Linked DNA regions of Homo sapiens: all the other regions are linked to region 1. Evidence: promoter capture Hi-C in human tissues and cell types (Jung and others, 2019). All regions are on one chromosome and are shown on one strand. Each heading gives the region's core, a stretch centred on a gene start or on the middle of the fragment in contact. The rest is flanking DNA. Distances are from core to core; before and after follow the strand shown. Region 1 holds the start of ZSCAN10 (zinc finger and SCAN domain containing 10). Region 2 overlaps ADCY9 (adenylate cyclase 9). Region 3 holds the start of SEC14L5 (SEC14 like lipid binding 5).

Region 1 (3,481 bases), core at 130-2,629:
TTTAAAAGAAACAAAAATTTTTAGTAGAGATGGGGTTTCACCATGTTGTCCAGGCTAGTCTTGAACTCCTGACCTCAGGTGATTAAAGAGGCTGAGTGCGGTGGCTCATGCCTGTAATCCCAGCACTTTGGGAGGCCAAGGCAGGTGGATCACCTGAGTTCAGGAGTTCAAGACTAGCCTGGCCAAAATGATGAAACCCCATCTCTACAAAAAAAAAAAAAAAAAAAAAAATGAACCGGGCATGATGAGACAGGCCCCACGCCTCTCGCTTCCGAGACTGTAATGGCTGCCTGGTCCCGCCAAGGCCACACCCGCTCCGGCGCTACAGCACCCCGCCCCGCCCCGGACACGCCCCCTCCGTCCCTACAGAACCCCGCCCCGCCCCTTGGCCTTCAGGCCCACTTCCCTGGGGGCGGGGTTTTCTGGCCCCGCCCCTGAACAAACTATGGAGTGGGAGGAGCCCGCGACTGGGAGAGCGAGGCGCGGGACGCGGGGAATGCAGAGCAGACCAAGGAGAAAGACCGTCGTACGAAGGGAGCACTAGACAACTGAAGTAGGAACAGGATGAGCTCAGGTGTTAAGTGCAGGAAAACAAAGACCCGTCAGATGAGCCAGTCAGGAGGGTCCTGGCCCCAACGGACCGAGGGGTCTAGGCCGGGGGAACGGCCAACACCTGAGAGGTGGTCCTGGCTCCCCGGGGGCTCAGAACGCTCAGGAAGGCACCAGCTGCAGCCAAGGGCACAACCCAAGAAGGCACCTTAAGCACAGGGATGGAATTAGTTTGGGGCCAAACGCTGTTGGTTAGGTCACTTCCCTCCCGGGGAGCCCTTGCTTCGTCATCGGTAAAGTTGGGACAAAAGCCACCTGGCAGGACTTGGGAGGACTTTAGGTGACCGTGTAGATGGAGCAAACTCTGCCCCATCACATCCTCCTCTTCCATTTTTTCCTAGCACCGTCGCTGCTCCTTTGCCCTAGAATGTAAGCCCCTGAGAGCAGGGCCTCATTCCTTCAGTTTCTCTCTGTGTCCTTAGCCCCTGCTTTGTAACAGTGCCTGGCACACAGGAGGCCATTGCAAAGAGTAGTCACGTGAATGAAAAGCCTAGCAAAGAAGCCAGCACACTGTGGGCATTTAAAAATGGCAGCTCTTAGCCCAAAGGAAAGACGGGCAGACCTGCAAGGGGCACCAGGCCAGTCTTGATTTGGGAGGTGGTTACACTCTCACACAGGCTGGGATTGAAATCTGGATTTCTCACTTTGTCTTCATGTCACTGGCCCCGCCCTCTTCCCATCCCGCTCCCAAACTGGGAGCTTAAGGGTTAACTCTAGGAAGCCCCTCATCACCTGGATGGGATGGGACTGGGGCAAGGAACTTCCTGTTCCATTTTCCCAGAGCCCTTCCCCAGGCTGGCGGAGGCTGGCTTTGGCCCTGGAGTCCTCAGAAAACCCCCCAGCATCTCTGCCTGTGTAGTGGGGACTCCGAGTGGTGAGTTGGAGGGAGGTCGGGGTGCAGGCTGCCAGGACGGGTGCTAGGAGCTCGCAGCAGCTTGGAGAGAGCAGGGGAGGCTCCAGGCCTTGGTGCTGGGGTGGGGGCTGGAAGAGTCTTGGGAGGATGTAGAGGGTCTGCTGGGGAGCCTCGTGCCAGCCAGCTTGGTGGACCTGTCGCGATGGGGGCGTTGGGGACGAGGGAGATCGCAGAACTTCCTGTGACATTGAAGAAGGCTGGCTTCACGTGCTCCCAGGTGGACTGATGGGCCTTGTCCACTCAGCCCAGCACGCGGAGGGAGGCCCCTCCAACAAACAACAAATCAGGCAGCTGCCAACTGTGTCCAGGGAGAAAGGGAGTGTTCCCGGCTGAGGACCCCACCTTTGCCGCCTTCCCCAACTCTGGGCTCTCAGGTGACCTGGGTGGGTCTCGTGGCAGCACCTCCACCCCGGGCTCCAAATTAAGCTGCTCAAATGTTGGATGGTGGCTGTAGAGCCTCTGCCTGCCTCCCTACCCAGCCCACCCCCAACAGAGGTGCATATTAACAGAGCTTTTGTCCTGGAGATCTGGGGGGAGGGAGAGATTCTCTGAAGCCAACTTGTCTCGAATTCCACCTCTTTGAAACCTTTTGGAGAGATCTCACCTGGAGATTCCGGCCTCCCTGTGTGGCTTGCCCTGAGAGCTGAAATTTGGAATCTTCATTTTTTTTCTGTTTCATGCTGTGATATTTCGGCTAAGGCTAGGAAAATGGCACAGAGCAGGATGGAGATCAGTTCCTTTTCTGTTTCAGAGCTTTGGCACTGTGTTCTAGACCTACACTCTCAGCCTAAAGCAAACCTTGGCTCCACCTGGTGTGACCCTGAGCATGTCACCAAGTGCAAAGCTTGGTCTTTGCACTTGGCAAAGGGAGAAGTGATTGTTTCGTGCGTGGGCTGGACTGGGATGAAATGAGCTTAATCGCCAGACACTCAGTACCTGCCCGCTGCTCCTGCACGGCAATGGATGAGCAGTGATTAGTTTTCTTGTTATTTTGTGCATGCTACTAAAAACCAGTGAAACGTAATCCCATTTTCTTCCCCCTCCCCCACTCTTTTTTTTTCTTTTCTTTTCTTTTCTTTCTTTCTTTCTTTTTTTTTTTTTTTTTTTTGAGACAGGGTCTTCGCCTTTTATCCAGGCTGGTGTGCAGTGGCGCGAACATGGCTCACTGCAGCTTTGACCCCCCAGGTTCAAGCAATCCTTCTGCCTTGGCCACCCAAAATGCTGGGATTATAAGCATGAGCCACCGCATCCGGCCTCACAACACCATTTTTCTGATCATTTATCACAGACTTTTTCTGTCCTAGACGTTGTTACATGCTTTCCTTCGAGATGGCCAGAATCACTGCCATTCCCTAATTTCTGCTAACAGACACTGAAGCAACTTCAAGTGCTGGATGAACACTCATTGAACTAGACACAGCTCCTACTCCCAGGCCAGGCAGAGAAATACGCTCATCTGTGATTGAGGCACTCCATCGCCCTAGTGGGGAGAGATGGGGTGGGAGGATGGGGGCTGCCTGGAGTGGATGCCAGAGGGCAGGAAAGCGTAGTTCCGGCTCGGGGGTGGTTACACTCTCACACATGCAGGGGTTGAAATCTGGATTTCTCACTTTGTCTTCGCTTATCTGGCCCCACCCTGTCCCCATCCACCTCCCAAACTGGGAGCTTGAGGGTTAACGCTAGGAAGCCCCTCAACACCTGGATGGGATGGGACTGGGGCAGGGAACTTCCCGTTCCATTTTGTCAGAGTCCTTCCCCAGGTGGCTGAGGTTGGGAGATGCAGGGGAGCCGGGGTAGGGGTGAGGGGCTTGGAAGATACTGTGTGTTGCAGGGAGGTTGGGAGAGATGGGTCATGTTCTAGAATCACCTCCCCTCCTTCTCAGCGGCTAAGCTTAAAATCCCCCATTCTGTACCACAACACCACCCCACCTGAGGAGGTTCAGGGAACCCTCAGGCTCA
Region 2 (3,142 bases), core at 50-2,549, 1.0 Mb before region 1:
GCCTGTAATCCCAGCACTTTGGGAGGCCAAGGCGGGTGGATCACCTGTGGTCATGAGTTGGAGACCAGTGTGGCCAATATAGTGAAACCCCGTCTCTACTAAAAATACAAAAATTAGCCTGGTGTGGTGGTGTGCGCCTGTAATCCCAGGTGCTCGGGAGGCTGAGGCAGAAGAATCGCTTGAACCCAGGAGGTGGAGGTTGCAGTGAGCTGTGATCATGTCCACTGCACTCCAGCCTGGGCGACAGCCTAGGCGAGACTGCGTCTCAAAAAAAAAAAAAAAAAAAAAAAAAAGTAGGTATAAGTATGATTGCAAAACTGCCCTGAGCTGCTACTTTCCGCCTTTGGGAAAGCCCAGCTCTGCAGGAGCAGTCATGGAGCCGTATAACACTGCCTGCCTCTTCAATAAAGGTGTTTTCTTTCCTGCCACCGGCTCACCCTTGAATTATTTCCTGGGCAAAGCCAAGAACCCTCTTGGGCTCGGCCCCACTTTGGGGCGCGTCTGACCTGCGTTAATAGTTCCCAACCTCCGTGAGCTCACAGTTAAAAATGTTGTGGAGTATGTTCGGGAGTGGGGAGCGCTTTAGAGGGGGCTCCTGCTGGAGCTGGGTCCTGAGATCAGGCTGTGGCTCTCCAGGTGGACAGAAGAGCACCAGGGCAGAGCGGAGAGGTGGGTATGGCTGGGCCCTGTGCTTCTCTGTGGGGGCGGACGATTGTTAGTTGTTCATCAGGACAAGGAAGGCCATGGGTAGCGTGGGAAGGAGTTTGCATTTGACCCCATAGGTGTCAGGGAACCACTCAACAGGGGGCTTAGGTGATCTGACTTGCAGTTTTAGAAAGTTCACTCTTTCAGAGCTAGTGAGTGTGGGTTGGAAAGAGATTAATGAGGTGTCGAGTAAATCCCAGGTAGGGGTGATGGTGGCCCAATCCAAAGTTACAGTAGCAGTGATGGAGGTGATGGGATCTGAGTGGCATTAGGAAGAGCAGCTTGATGGGACTGCAAGCCAGATTTAAACAAACGACTGGCAGGAGGGGAAGGGCTTGACCATGTGAATGGGAAATGGCATTTTAAGTTTCTGGAAGTGACTTGGCGACAATGTGGAGTCAGGAATGGGTGAGGGGCCTTTGAAGTTGCTATGGTATGAATGGAGAATGCAGGATGGACTTGCAGAGTACAGAGGCCCGGAACCCCTGGCTTGCTTACTCATTCAGCAAATCATTTACTCCGTGCCAGGCACGGTTCTGGGTTCTGGCAATACAGCCGTAAACAAAACAGACAACAATTCCTGCTCTTGTAATAGGGGACAAGAATTTTTAAGTCAATAATATAGGAGGATCGCTGGAGCCCACGAGGTCGAGGTTGCAGAGAGCCGTGATTGCACCACTGCATTCCAGCCTGGGCGACAGAGTGAGACCCTGTCTCTAAGAAACAAAAACCAGGCCTTCAAATAGGGGAGATCTAATAGAGGGGACAACAGGGGAGTCAAACCATAAATAAGTAAAATAGAAAAAGTGTTTTGTGAACAAACATAAAGCAGGAAGGGGATACAGCAGATGGGGTGTACGAGTGTGAGAAATCTTATCTAGGGTGGCCAGTCACTGGGAGAAGGTTGCAGGAATTTTTAGCATACTGCTAGGATTTTGGAAATAATCTAAAAAGTGAGGGGCCAGGCATGGTGGCTCATGCCTGTAATCTCAACACTTTGGGAGGCCGAGGTAGGCGGATCACCTGAGGTCAGGAGTTTGAGACCAGCCTGGCCAACGTGGTGAAACCCCATATTTACTAAAAATACAAAAATTAACCAGGTGTGGTGGCAGGTACCTGTAATCCCAGCTACTCGGGATGCTGAGGCAGGAGAATTGCTTGAACCTGGGAGACGGAGGTTGCAGTGAGCCAAGATTGCACCATTGCACTCCAGCCTGGGCGACAAGAATGAGACCCTGTCTCAAAAAAAAAAAAAAAAGTGTGAGGGACAGTTATTAAAGATATGGAGAAATGGGCCGGGCGTGGTGGCTCATGCCTGTAATCCCAGCACTTTGGGAGACCGAGGTGGGCAGATCAGGAGGTCAGGAGTTTGAGACCAGCCTGACCAACATGGTGAAACCCTGTCTCTACTGAAAATGCAAAAATTGGCTGGGTGTGGTCGCAGGCGCCTTTAGTCCCAGCCACTTGGGAAGCTGAGGCAGGAGAATCGTTCGAACCCAGGAGGTGGAGTTTGCAGTGAGCCGAGATCGTGCCATTGCACTCCAGCCTGGGCGATAGGGCGAGACTTTGTCGCCAAAAAAAAAAAAAAAAAAAAAAAAAAAAAATGAAGAAACGGTCTGATTAAGGTGAGGGACCTTCCACAGCATTTGGGATGAAACCGCTAGGCCTGAGGGAACCGTGGCTGTTGTATTCTGCCTTGGGCCACAAGCAAAAAATGGTGAGACGTGTTATCTCGAGCTGTTGGCTTTTCCTGTCATAGATACAGGGTCACAAAGACAGAAAATGAAACTGTTAGAAAATATCTACAGGCATCTTCTTTTCCCGTGTAAATATTAGGAAGACAGAATGAAGATGCTCCTCCGCTCTCATCCACACCCATGGTCATATCTCTGAAGAGGGGAATACCAGGGAGTGATCACATTGTCAGATGCAGAAATTAAAAAAGCTTTTTTCCCCAGCCAAACTTTATGCTTGTGGAGCAACTTGGGGAGGAGACCCGCTGGTATGCATTTGGGCAGATTGTCACCTGTTGGCCACCTCTGTGATCGAGACCTTTGCCTTAGAGGAGTTCCTATGTAGACCCTGTCTGGTGGGCCGACAGACCGACAGTGGACGGAGGCATTCTGTATGCGTTAGCCTCTGCAAACAAACACCTGTCTCATGCCGGAAATCTGGGCGCCCCATTAACCCTGAGCACGGGCCTGCCAGCTGACAGAACCCTAGCCAGGTGTTGGTTTGGGGTTCAGTTGCATGCTCAGGTGTTCCCCTTCCTTCCCCCGTTAGCTTGTCCCCACCTAAGCCTGCAACCCTTGCCACTGGGATGCTAACCCGTTAGCAGAGCTCAGTCTCCTTGCTTGGAAATTCTGTGTTGACCTGCACTGCATTCTTTTTTTTTTTTTTTTTTTTTTTTTTTTGAGACAGAGTCTGGCTGTGTCAC
Region 3 (3,454 bases), core at 492-2,991, 1.9 Mb before region 1:
CTCCAACTGACTTGCTGCACAACACAGAGTACATCACAAAGCAAACCTACCCACTCATTCTCTCTCTCGTCCCAGTGTCAGCTTCCTTAAAGGGGAGGGAAGGGGGTCTGTGAGCAGAAGGAGGGCTCTGTGGTCAAATGTGAGGTTCTAGAGTCTCCTTTGTGGGGATCTCAGCCCCGACTCCACCTCTGCGTAGATACAGAACTTAGTGTCATCCCTTCACCTGTCAAAGCCTCAGTTTCATGGAGGTTACATGGGAAAATAACAGCTATCGGGAATTGGAAGAAACATCATCTGTTAAGACAGTGCTGTAAACATTCAATAAACAGCTGTTGTCATTATCACCACCATTCCATTTATCACTGTGATATGCCATTATATGAAATGACAGCAGTGGCTTGGCCCCTGATACCTTTGTTTTCTATCAGGAGAGTCTAAAGTAAGGGAGCAGGTCAGCTTCAACAAGGAGAAGGAAGAAAGACTTTGTGTTTTGGTCACTGGGCCGAGGATAGGATGGTTGGACAGAGAGGTCACTGGATAGAAGTTAAACCCACCAGGTCAGCTGAGTAACTCACTAATTCCTTCTGATCTGGGAGTCTAAGGAGCTCCGTCTTCCTACCGCCATAGCTGATCTCAAGCCCCTCCAACTGTCACATGGGGGCCCAAGAATCAGGAGTCACTCACCGCCATGACCAGCTCAAACGGGTACTTGTAGACTCGGACAGGAGACTGGTATCTTTGCACCATGTTCACGCTGGAGCACCAATGGAGGTCACCAGGCAGGGGTGTGCACAGAGCCTGGGGCGAGGAGTGACTGGTGAGGTTGCAGCTCCCACCTCGGGAAGCAGGGACACCACCCACCAAGTGTAAGGGGCAGCCCCTGGCCCCACCCACACAGCTCCCCAGCCTTCAAATTGAGAAGGCTGATATTCCCCCCAAATTACTCCAGGCCAAGCCCCAACAGCTTCCCTGTCATTAGCCATGGCCCCAGACCACGCTCAGCCTTCCAAGAGCAGTCAGCACCCCCAAACTTTCCTCTACCCCCACCCCTTCACACTGAGGGCCCCCAGAAGCCTTACGGCCACCCACACAGACACACACACATTTGCAATTCTTACACTCCCACGGTTCTATTCACGCATGCACCCCGCAGCTTGCCACAGACTTGCTGGCCTACAGCCCACCCCCGAGTCTCCTTGCACCTGCCCTCCCATTTTCCTCCCAGACACCCTGACATACACACACAGCCTTCACCACATTTCACAGGCACTGTCTCTATCACACACATGTACACACGCAGGTTTCCCTCCCACACGGGACTGCTTTTGCACACGCCTCCAACTTTGCACACACACCCTGAAACACGCACCTGCCCAGCTCCACGCACGCAATTCCCCTGGTGTGCACAGACGTGCACACACGCACACACACCCGTGCGCACATGCACACACACGTACACACACGTAGAGGCAATCGCACACGCATGCACACACAGGTCCCCGCAGCTTTGCTCACCCTCGCCCTCGGGAGCCTTTGGGAATGCAGCCTAGGGGAAGTGCCCTGGAAGCCCGCCTGGCTCGGGAGCTGAGCGCTTACCCGCGCCCGCCTGGCCTGGAGCGCAGTACCTGAGGCGGGGCCCGATCGCGGATCTCTAGCCTGGTGTGTCCCGCCTTGAACACCCTGCGGCCAGGACAGCTGTGGAAGGCCGGAGGGGCGGGAGCGAAACCTGCCGGGCCGAGAGAGCTCCAGGACCCGGGACAGCGGAGATCCTGGCCTGGCCCCGCCCCTGACCTGGTCCCGCCCACGTCCCCGGCCATGGCCCCGCCCAGGTTGGCCCTGCCCCCTAACTGGTCCCGCCCCACTCTGGCCCCGCCCCAGGCGAACTCCCCCTGGTTCTAGCCCCGCCCCTTATTTTTAGATGTCGCTTGTTTGACCACGCCCTCAGCCCAGTCCTTTCTCTAGATTGGTCACACCTCAGGAAGTCCCCTCCCCCTTCACTGGCCCCGCCCTCCAAGGCCCTCAGCCTCGGGGAATGGTAGGCCACAGGACGACCCCGCCCTAATCTAGCTCTGCCTCCAAGCAGACCCTGAGTCCGGGCCGACCCGCCCCGGACCCTGCGTCTGGCCGACAGTACTGTTTACATTTGTAGATAAGCAGAATTTACGCTTTTCTTGCTCAGATTAACCTCGCCCTCGTCCCGCTGCACTTGGGTCTGACTGGCTCCTCCACCTGTCCCCGCCCCACGGCCCGCGCATGCACCTTCGCCCACTCTGCACACCTTCACAGAGCGCCTGCTGGGGGTCAGCCCTGTCCAGGCGCTGGAGAGCCGCCGGTGAGCCACACGCACGAATCCCTGCCCTCGTGGAGTTTATACTACGGTGGGGAGACAGACACTCAATAAATAAGGCAAATATATGATGTGTGAGGTAGTGAAAAACTCTAACGAGAGAAAAATAAGCAGGAAAGGGGCTCAAGGAGCCAGCGGAGAGAAAGGACAATTTAAAACAGGTAAGAGGCCGGGCGCCATGTCTCACGCCTGTAATCCAAACACTTTAGGAGGCGGAAGCGGGAGGACCGCTTGAACCCAGGAGTTGGAGACCACCCTGGGTAACATAGCAAGAACCTATCTCTACAAAAAAATTTTTTTTTAGTTTAGGCAGGGCGCGGTGGCTCACGCCTGTAATCCCAGCACACTGAGAGGCCAAGGCAGGCAGATCAGCTGAGGTCAGGAGTTCGAGAACAGCATGGCCAATATGAGGAAACCCCGTCTCTACTAAAATACAAAATTAGCCGGGCATGGTGGCGTATACCTGTAATCTCAGCTACTCGGGAGGCTGAGGCAGGAGAATCGCTTGAATCAAGGAGGCGGAGGTTGCAGTGAGCCGAGACTGCGCCACTGCACTCCAGCCTGGGCAAGAAGAACAAAGCTCCGTCGCAAAAAAAAAAAAAAAAAATTAGCCAGGCGTGTTGGCACGTGCCTGTGGTCCCAGCTACTCAAGAGGCTGAGGCAGGAGGATCCCTTGAGCCCAGAAGTTCAAAGCTGCAGTGAGCTGTTACCTGGCCACTGCACTCCAGCCTGGGCAACAAAGCAAGACTCGGTCTCAAAATAAATAAGTAAATAAATAAATAAAACAGGGAGTAAGGGGGCCTCCCTTGGGAGAGTGACATTTGTCCATCACTCTCATTTTAACTCACACTTAACCCCTTTCAGCCCTCCCAGGACTCCCAGGGGACCAACCTTGCTCCCAGAAGTCCTGCCTTGCCACTCCTCATCTGTTTAGCCTACAAGACCCAAGAAATTGGCTCTGGACAGTGCTGTCATCCATGTATTCACTCATTCAACATTTACTGAGCACCTACTACGTGCCACCGTGGGGTGAATTCACCCCTTCAAGCAGGGGAAGTCAGAGGTGGCCAGGGAGATGGACAACCCCTGATATATTTCAAGTATGTC

What was found. Contacts are between HindIII fragments. The study calls those that stand out against the background at their distance.
Region 2: a contact is called between a fragment that was not itself captured here and the fragment with the promoter of ZSCAN10 in region 1, in 1 of the 25 tissues and cell types used here (dorsolateral prefrontal cortex).
Region 3: a contact is called between the fragment with the promoter of SEC14L5 here and the fragment with the promoter of ZSCAN10 in region 1, in 1 of the 25 tissues and cell types used here (psoas muscle).

The regions. Positions count from the first base shown.
Region 1 is chr16:3,097,192-3,100,672 of GRCh38, reverse strand. It overlaps ZSCAN10 (zinc finger and SCAN domain containing 10), which reads left to right and starts at 1,379. Exons shown (of 6, transcript NM_032805.3): 1 at 1,379-1,483. RefSeq lists a silencer at 357-416 and an enhancer at 577-626. The HindIII fragment of the contact is 18,144 bases long and covers 1-2,890 here.
Region 2 is chr16:4,107,528-4,110,669 of GRCh38, reverse strand. All of the region lies in intron 2 of ADCY9 (adenylate cyclase 9), which reads left to right. Among named protein-coding and RNA genes, the nearest start is that of ADCY9, 7.3 kb to the left of the region's middle. RefSeq lists an enhancer at 1,729-2,228. The HindIII fragment of the contact is 6,430 bases long and covers 1-3,142 here.
Region 3 is chr16:4,956,617-4,960,070 of GRCh38, reverse strand. It overlaps SEC14L5 (SEC14 like lipid binding 5), which reads right to left and starts at 1,741. Exons shown (of 16, transcript NM_014692.2): 1 at 1,626-1,741; 2 at 685-798. The coding sequence starts at 747. RefSeq lists an enhancer at 1,214-1,749 and silencers at 1,553-1,848, 1,647-1,856. The HindIII fragment of the contact is 18,853 bases long and covers 1-3,454 here.